Regions from separate parts of the Homo sapiens genome. Here regions 1 and 2 are each linked to region 3. Evidence: promoter capture Hi-C in 16 types of primary human blood cells and fetal thymus (Javierre and others, 2016). All regions are on one chromosome and are shown on one strand. Each heading gives the region's core, a stretch centred on a gene start or on the middle of the fragment in contact. The rest is flanking DNA. Distances are from core to core; before and after follow the strand shown.

Evidence for each region. The method cuts DNA at HindIII sites, captures the fragments that hold promoters and counts their contacts. A CHiCAGO score of 5 or more calls a contact.
Region 1: a contact is called between a fragment that was not itself captured here and the fragment with the promoter of FBXO43 in region 3, in 7 of 17 cell types (naive CD4 T cells, naive CD8 T cells, activated CD4 T cells and 4 more). The highest score is 10.0, in naive CD4 T cells.
Region 2: a contact is called between a fragment that was not itself captured here and the fragment with the promoter of FBXO43 in region 3, in 1 of 17 cell types (activated CD4 T cells). The highest score is 5.1, in activated CD4 T cells.

Annotation. Positions count from the first base shown.
Region 1 is chr8:100,834,488-100,837,451 of GRCh38, reverse strand. No RefSeq gene overlaps it. Among named protein-coding and RNA genes, the nearest start is that of PABPC1, 110 kb to the right of the region's middle. The HindIII fragment of the contact is 1,871 bases long and covers 620-2,490 here.
Region 2 is chr8:100,815,186-100,818,228 of GRCh38, reverse strand. No RefSeq gene overlaps it. Among named protein-coding and RNA genes, the nearest start is that of PABPC1, 95 kb to the right of the region's middle. The HindIII fragment of the contact is 2,172 bases long and covers 405-2,576 here.
Region 3 is chr8:100,144,410-100,147,275 of GRCh38, reverse strand. It overlaps FBXO43 (F-box protein 43), which reads left to right and starts at 1,459. Exons shown (of 5, transcript NM_001029860.4): 1 at 1,459-2,225. The coding sequence starts at 2,141. RefSeq lists a silencer at 1,276-1,735 and an enhancer at 2,847-2,866. The HindIII fragment of the contact is 15,929 bases long and covers 1-2,866 here.

The DNA of each region.
Region 1 (2,964 bases), core at 306-2,805, 690 kb before region 3:
GAGATCATGGCTCACTGCAACCTCAACCTCCCAGACTCAAGCAATCCTCCTGCTTTAGTCTCCTGAGTAGCTGGGACAACAGACACAGGCTGCCACGCCCAGCTAATTTTTTAATTTTTTTTTTTTGTAGACAGGGTCTTGCCACGTTGCCCAGGCTATGTCAATCTTTTGATGCCTTTTTGGCTTCAATATGTTTAGCTTAGTAAGACTTCCCTCATCTAAGATTTATAAATATGTACATATACTTCTTAAATTCTCGTATATTTGTTTTATTTTACATCCAAATTTAACCATTCTGAAATCCAATTTCAGATGAGGTCTGACTCCTTTTTTACCCACTTAAACTATTTTGGTTACCATTTTATTCTTCAAATACAACTTCTAATAGGTTCTAAGCACTTAAGCCTCTAACCAAAGACTAGAGCCCTGGATTTGCCATCATCTGAATGCTGGCCTGTTGCAATTCACTTTATTTCTTCCCTTTCTGTGCTAGTTATAGAAAACTATTTTTTGTCTATCTGGAAAATCCATTCATTCAGTAAAGACCAACAATTAAAGCCAGCTGTTTTTTTTTTTAAGGAAACAGTGAGTTTCCTTAATATTTCAGGCTTGAAAAGCTTTCCATGAATAGCAGTTTAAGATCAACTCATCCAAGTGTGTACTAAGACTTTCACATTATTTTGAATCCTAAAGTTATTTGATCTTCAAAACAAATGGGGAAAAATATTCTACCTATGGAATAAACCTATTTAGATAGTTGAATTTTAAAAAACTTATGCTTCAGGTGCGGTGGCTCACACTTGTAATCCCAGCACTTTGGGAGGCTGAGACAGGCAGATCACCTGAGGTCGGGAGTTCGAGACCAGCCTGGCCAACATGGTGAAAATACACACACATACATACTCTCTGTTTCTCTCTCTCTCTCTCTCTCTCTCTCTCTCTCTCTCTCTCTCTATATATATATATATATATATATATATATATATATATATATACACACACACACACACACACACACACACACACACACAAATCAGCTGGGCATGGTGGCACACGCCTGTAGTCCCAGCTACTGGGGAGGCTGAGGCAGAAGAATCGCTTGAACCTGGGAGACGGAGGTTGCAGTGAGCCAAAATCGCGCCACTCCACTCCAGTCTGGGTGACAGAGCAAGACTCCATCTAAATAAATAAATAAATAAATAAATAAATAAATAAATAAATGTAATATGAGAAGCCAGGAGAGGAGTGAGTTGATGAAGGAGTGAGCAGAACACGTGTAAGAACACCCTTAAGGAGATGAAAGGAGAGGGTAGAAGAAAGACCCCAAGCCAGTGGCCTCTGTGAATTGGTCACAAGACCACAGTGGGGGATCCTGCTGAAGATGCATAAACTTCCTCAAATAATGACGATGGTCTCCGCTGCCATGTGTCCCTCACCTGCCTCATGGTCCAGTACCCAAATGTTGCCAGAATGAGGACTGAGACTATTGTTCCCCTGTGGGAGAGAAGATTTACATAACTAGGGAGAGTTTGGGGATTGGTGATAATTAAATAAACAAAAACAACAAAACCAATGATTAATCCGAGAAAAAACAAAAAAGTAGGGAAGGAGAAGTAATCGTAATATGTTACATGACTCAGCTGTCAATAACATTAATCGATTCGTAAAAGGTAAACACTTATGCCAGTTATCAATTTACTGCCTCTCCAGATTCACACTGTGAGATTCGGGGTCCTTTGACTATTTCTCCTTTGCAGCCGGCATGATGTTAAAAGCATCGTCAGTAGAGGGCGTTGGAGGGATGCTGAAGGAGGAAGGCGGTTGCTTCCACCATCCAGGTTTTGCTGCTTTTCAATCCTCTCCCCACACCCCCCAATGCGGCAACCAAAGATCCAGTGACAGCTCCATTAGGATCCAGCAGCACCAGATGGATAACTTCCCACAGGGTTCCCGCAGCCTTCCCAGGAATGATCCCCAGTGAATCATGCGGGTGCCTCAGTTGGCTTCCCAGCCTTGGCCTGCCAGCCCTCCAGAGAGGTGTTTTCTGCTTGCCAATCCTGGCCACGGTTTTCTACACATCTCTACCTCGGAGTGGTGTTTTCTTCTTGTCCAGTGGCCTGGAGCAACCCAGAAAACTTCTGTGCCATCTCAGCCTCAGGGAGGGACGTTCCTCCCGGGAGTATCCTTGCATGGGGGAAAAGAACCTCCAGAGGTCTGTAGTAGAAACAGACTTCTGTTACAAAAGGCAAATTAACAAAAGAAAAGCAAACAAATTTATTCACATATATACTTCATAATACATGGGAGATACACAGAGAATGAGTAGTTCTCAAAGTGGTGGCTTGGAATTCCAGCTTAGCTGGCATCTTTAACAAAGAACAGTACACTTTTAGAGAAGTGACAGGACAAAGGAAATGGATTTTGAGTTTCTACAGGCAGCAACTTGAGGAAAGGCAAAGAACTGGCAGATAAAGGCTGGTTAGTAAAGCTTGTTCATATGCATTCCTCTGGCTTCATCTCCAGGCCGAGACAGTTTAAAGCTTTCTTCAGTGGTAACCTTTATTTTTATTTATTTGTTTTATTTATTTATTTATTTATTTATTTATTTTTGAGATGGAGTCTCGCTCAGTAGCCCAGGCTGGAGTGCAGTGGTGCAATCTCGGCTCACTGCAAACTCCGCCTCCCGGTTCAAGTGATTCTCCTGCCTCAGCCTCCCAAGTAGCTGGGATTACAGGCGTCCACCACCACACCCGGCTAATTTTTGTGATTTTAGTAGAGACGAGATTTCACTATATTGGCCAGGCTGGTTTTGAACTCCTGACTTCAAGTGATCTGCCCACCTTGGCCTCCCAACGTGCTAGGATTACAGGCGTGAGCCACTGCCCCCAGCCCCCTTATTTATTTATTTTTATTTTTTTGAGATGGAGTCTCGCTCTGTCACCCAGGCTGGAGTGCAAGTGGAGT
Region 2 (3,043 bases), core at 241-2,740, 670 kb before region 3:
ATTACAGGTGCCCGCCACTACACCTGGCTAACTTTTATATTTTTTGGTAGAGACAGCGTTTTGCCATATTGGTCAGGCTGGTCTCGAACTCCTGACCTCAGGTGATCTGCCCGCCTGGGCCTCCCAAAGTACTGGGATTACAGGCATGAGCCACTGTGCTCTGCCCCTTCCAATCTTTATACTGCTTTTCTTGTACGTATTTTATTGGTTCACTGAGACTTTTAGCAGACTCCACTGAATAGTAGCGATGGTAGGAGGCATCACCATCTTCTTCGTGTCTTTGTGAGAATATTACTTTTACTCCATTCAGTGTGATGTTTGCTGTGTGTTTCCAGTAGCTATTTCCATATTTTTCATCTAGTAAGAGTCTTTAATAGCAATGGCGTTGAATTTAATCAAAAGCTTGTTCACCATCTACTGAGATACTCAAATGGTTTTTCTCCTTTAAACTATTAATTAATGTATTGAATTACATTAATAGATTTCCTAGTGTTGAACCACTTTTGCATCCCTAAAATTAGCCCTACTTGGTAATAATGCACCATTTAAATAATATTTCACTTGGTGTTTTTGCATCTATGCTCATAAATGAGATTAAGACCTTAATTTTGAAAGTCCTGAATGCCAGGGTAAGGAATCTGGATTTCTTTGCTGAAAAACAATAAGATTTGATTAATATTTTTACCATCATGAAAATTATATCTTGGCCACTCCAGTGATAAGAATTTATCTTCTGTGAATTATCTGGGTGTCCTTTCTGTTCTCTATTGCTGAATGTTTCTAACTTTATCCTGCTCCAGACAGTGTTGTTTAATGACTATTGTGGAGATATGGCTGCAACTCTTTCCTTTTCTCTTAATTGGAAATCAATCTATTTTATATAACTATTGTTTTGGTTTTTGTTTTTTTTTTCTTTGGACAGTGTCTTTCTCTGTCACCCAGGCTGGAGTGCAGTGGCATGATTTCGGCTCACTGCAACCTCCACCTCTCGGGCTCAAGCAATTATCCTGCCTCAGCCTCCTGTGTAACTGGCATTACATGCGCACACCACCATGCCCAGCTAAGTTTTGTATTTTTAGTAGAGACAGAGTTTTCCCATGTTGGCCAGGCTGATCTCGAACTCCTGACCTCATGATCTGCCCGCCTCAGCTTCCCAAAGTTTTGGGATTACAGGCATGAGCCACTGCACCCGGACTGTTTTTTTTCCCCCCACAATTTCATGCCATTGTGTTTTTGCACAAGAGTGGCTTGCCAAGAACGGGTGTGGAGCTCTGTGAAGAACAGCTCTATTGGGAAAGTAGAGGCATCCCAAAGGCCCCCTTCAGTGACTATTACAGGAGCAGGACATAATTATACTATACAAGCAACAGCAGGATGACCACACTTGCTGAAATTTCCAGAAATGTTTAGGTATCCAGATCTACAGTCAAGCCACCTGTCAGCATGCATGCCCTTCTTTGTTGTTCTGGAAATAAGGTCACCATGGGCAGAGGGAGGCCAGCTAAAATCCACCTAGTTCGCCAGAAAGCCTAAGATATGCTAAGGAATTCAAATCCTCAAAAAAATCTCAGTGGGAAACACATTTGTTGGTCCTTGTGGACTCCTGAAAATAATACTCCCTCCAGCAGCCTCAGAAGCCACACAGTGCCTTTAAGATGTCACCAGTGGTGACAGCAGGTGTGCTGAGAACTTGACTGACTCCCAGCTATCACGTTGGCCTCCTGAGCTCTGGACTGCAGGTTTGTGGTTCTGCTTGGGAGTGCTTCTTGATACCTCTGGCCCACTTCTAGTTGTGCCTCTATCCATTCTCCCCTTTTTTCCATGATAGCAGGTCTTTGCTCAAGCAAAGACCACATTTCCCAGGCTCCCTTGCAGCTGTGTGGCCACATGACTAAGTTCCTCCCAGGAGCCTTTGAACAGGTCTTTCCCTTCAAACAACTGGGTAAACGCTCCACTAATACATTTCCTATTTCCACAGACATAGAAGCTGGGAGTGGGAAAGAAAGACCACAGATTGGCTGGGCACAGTGGCTCATGCCTGTAATCCCAACCTTTTGGGAGGCTGAGGTGGGTGGATCATCTGAGGTCAGGAGTTCGAGACCAGCCTGGCCAACATGGTGAAACCTCATCTCTACTAAAAATACAAAAATTAGCTGGGCGTGGTGGCAGGTGCCTGTAATCCCAGCTACTCAGGAGGCTGAGGCAGGAGTATCACTTAAGCCCGGGAGGTGGAGGTTGTAGTGAGCTGAGATTGCACCACTGCACTCCACCCTGGGCAACAGAGCGAGACTCCGTCTCAAAAAAAAAAAAAAAAAGAAAAAAGAAAAAGAAAGACCACAGATCACACGGCTGCCCCTCAGTCTCCTACTGTAAAGGTACAGTATATCTCTGGCGAGCTTGCCTAACTGTAAGGGATAGTCATACTTTGGCAGGTAGGGGAACAGGAGCCAAGCATCTTAACCCCCTCCTATGTTTGGGGACGTGCCCACTGTATGTGTGTGGGTATGGAACATGCCCCACTTCCTACCGAGGAAGCCCTAAAGGCCTGTTACTCCCATATGAGAGAGACCAAAGCTTCATAAATGCCCCAAGTTGGCTCTGGAGCAGGAGGACTGGAGAGTGGGGCAGTTTAATGTAAGTTGGGGGGATGAATCATAATTGTACAGTAGTTAAGCATATGTTGGTTCAAAACACAAAGGCTGGGAAATTAAGTTGCATCATATAACAGATTTAATCAGACATAATGAAATAAAGCTAAGGGGAGAAAATCTAAATTATAAACACAAGAAAAAAGTCTAATATCGCGCTAACTAGATTATTACAAAACATTTTTAGGAATTCCAGCAGGGCTCCTACTTTTCTGCAAGGCAGATTAAACAACACATTTTTAACTTTAATTATGGCAAGAAAACCTAAATGTTGGTTAAAGCTTAAAGGATAGACTCCCTGGGTTGACACAGTAGAAAAACCTCCAAGGAGAAATTACATTCAGAGACACAAGTTGAAAAACGTAAATAAATGAAATACATTTACAAATTAATGA
Region 3 (2,866 bases), core at 210-2,709:
TCCTCTGTTACAGCACTTGCTCTATACCAATGAGCTCCTTAACAGCAGTAACTGTGGCTGTGTCAGCTCTGTATTCCCAGTACCTAGCACAGTAATTGGCACATAGTTGGAATTTAATAACTGTTAGTGGACGGGCACAGTGGCTCATGCCTGTAATCTCAGCACTTTGGGAGGCTGAGGCAGGTGGATCACCTGAGGTCAGGAGTTCGAGACCAGCCTGGCCAACCTGGCAAAACTCCGTCTCTACTGAAAATACAAAAATTAGCTAGGCGTGGTGGCGGGTGCCTGTCATCCCAGCTACTCGGGAGGCTGAGGCAGGAGAATCGTTTGAACCTGGGAGGTGGAGGTTGCAGTGAGCCAAGATTGCACCACGGCACTCCAGCGTGCGTGACAGAGCGAGACCCTGTCTCATAATAATTTTAGTGAGTTTGGTTTTGGATGACTGAGGGACATCCAGTTGGAGAAATGTCCAGTCAGAGAAGAGTGGTGGTAGTGCCTGTTATTGGCTTAAAAGTGATGGTTGAAGTTCTGAATAAGAATTACATAAGCATGGGATGATAAACTAATAAAAATGCTGAGGTAGGACCTCTCATTTAGGGAGTAGGCCAAGGAAAAGAAGCCAGAAAAAGGAGACTAGGAAGAAGCTGCCAAGAGCAGCAGGAGTGTCCCTGGCATATAATAGACGCCCAGTAAATATTTATTGAATGAAAAAATTAGGGTTTAAAAAATTTATTTGGCTTTGAGGGTACTTGGGAGTTCATGATGCCCAAAAATGGATGTTTGTAAACAATGAACACATTTCACTCTGGTTTTTATGAATAGATTTTTTAAAAATCTTTTTTTTGAGATGGGGGTCTCACTATGTTGCCCAGGCTGGTCTCAAATTCCTTGGCTCAAGTGATCCTCCCACCTCTGTGCTGGGATTACAGATGTGAGCCACCAGGCCCGGCTCAGCTTTTTTATCACAAAATCTGTATATATTCATTGTTGAAACATGAGAAGAAAACACAGATAAAAAGAACTAAAAAGCAAACATAATCCTGTACAAATTTACCGTATCCAAGTTATTCATACCTTTCAGACCTCATCCTGTGTATATCCATATTTTTAACCTAAAAGGGGTCAGTTTGTAACTTGCTTTTTGCACTTGACAGTTTGGAGAATCATTTCCAAGGGAACATTCTCATACATGATTTCTAATGGCATCCCACTGTAGGCCACGTTAGCATTCCTAAATACGGTAATGCTTCCCAAAGTGGGAATGGGGAGAAGCAGAGCCTTTCTGACCCGCCTCGGGACGGGTGCAGGGGTGAGCGAGAGAGGGGGCGCTCCTCCCGCTCAAGCGAGGACCCAGGCCTGCGGGCGGCCGGGCGGGAGCGCTGCAGAGCCGGAGGAAGGGGCGGGACAGCGCGGCGCGGGGCGGGGCTGCGCTTAGCGGTTACCCCGGGCGGGCCGTTCAAACCTAAGGAGGTAAAGGCAGCGGCCCCACGCGAAGCTGGCGTGGGGGTTGCCATAGCCCGCATCCCAGGGGGCGAGGCCGAGGCTTCTCCCCGGCCCATCCAGCGGCTGCTGCCCGGCTCCTCTCCCACCTGTCCGCTTCGGCGCCTCGCCCGGCCCCGCGGCCTCCAGGCAGGCGGCGGGACCCCAGGCGAGTGCCCGTTAGCGGGTCTCCCGGCGGCCCGGCCCCGCGTCGCCCTGTGTCTTCCAGGTGCTGGGCCTAGGGAGGCGCGCGGCAGCCCTCACTCCTCCGCTCCTGGTGACGCCAGCCCATCCCCTGCTGCCCTTGGCTTTCTGGGCCTAGCGGATCTTTGACGCCCTGGTGAGACCGTTACCCACCCGCCCGCCATAGCTCCTCGGGGGAGTCAGTGCCAGGCTGCAGCACACGCTGCCTTTTCAGGAACCCGAATTTGGGAAGTTTACTCATGTCTAAGTCCAGCTGGAGAAAACAAGGATATTAAGATAACTATTTTCTGGAGGGCTGAAGGAAATTCAAAATGATTTAGACCTTCTCAAGTGTTAGGAATAATCCCTGCGGCATGCACCCTGTGTACCCTTCGACTTTGAGCAATCATGATGCTGCTGCACCTTTCAATTAATTGTGCAAACTAAAGTTTTCCTCTTTAAGTGGCATTATTTTGGCATGAGTTTTAAAGACAAAGATGAGAGAATTTCTTGTTTGGAAGCCTACGTAACTTTGACATCTAAGAGCTCAAGATTTACTGATGGTAAGAGTTTCCACTTTAACAAATGAAGAACATTTGGGTTTAATGTAAGTACTTCATTCTCTGATGTGGTAGGTGCTTTTTCTTTTTTTTCTTTTTCTTTTTTCTTTCTTTTTTTTTTTTTGAGACGGAGTCGCTCTGTCGCCCAGGCTGGAGTGCAGTGGCGCGATCTCGGCTCACTGCAAGCTCCACCTCCCGGGTTCACGCCATTCTCCTGCCTCAGCCTCCCGAGTAGCTGGGACTACAGGCGCCCGCCACCACGCCCGGATAATTTTTTTGTATTTTTAGTGGAGACGGGGTTTCACCGTGTTAGCCAGGTTGGTCTCGCTCTCCTGACCTCGTGATCCGCCCGCCCCGGCCTCCCAAAGTGCTGGGATTACGGGCGTGAGCCACCGCGCCCGGCCGCTGCTTTTTTTTTTTTTTTTCTTAAAGAACACTTTAGGAATAAGTTTTCTCAGCCTTTTATCAGAAGCCTAGTTTTTAAAAATGAATATCGAAGAGGCTTGATTGATTTATCCGTGAACTGTTGAGTCCATAAAATACAACAGACAGTCCATGATTTTACATGAATAATTTTAAAATTCAGTTGCGAAGAACCACGTTTGAGACCAACGTCTTGGGGTAGTAGAAAGATGAAAATGCTA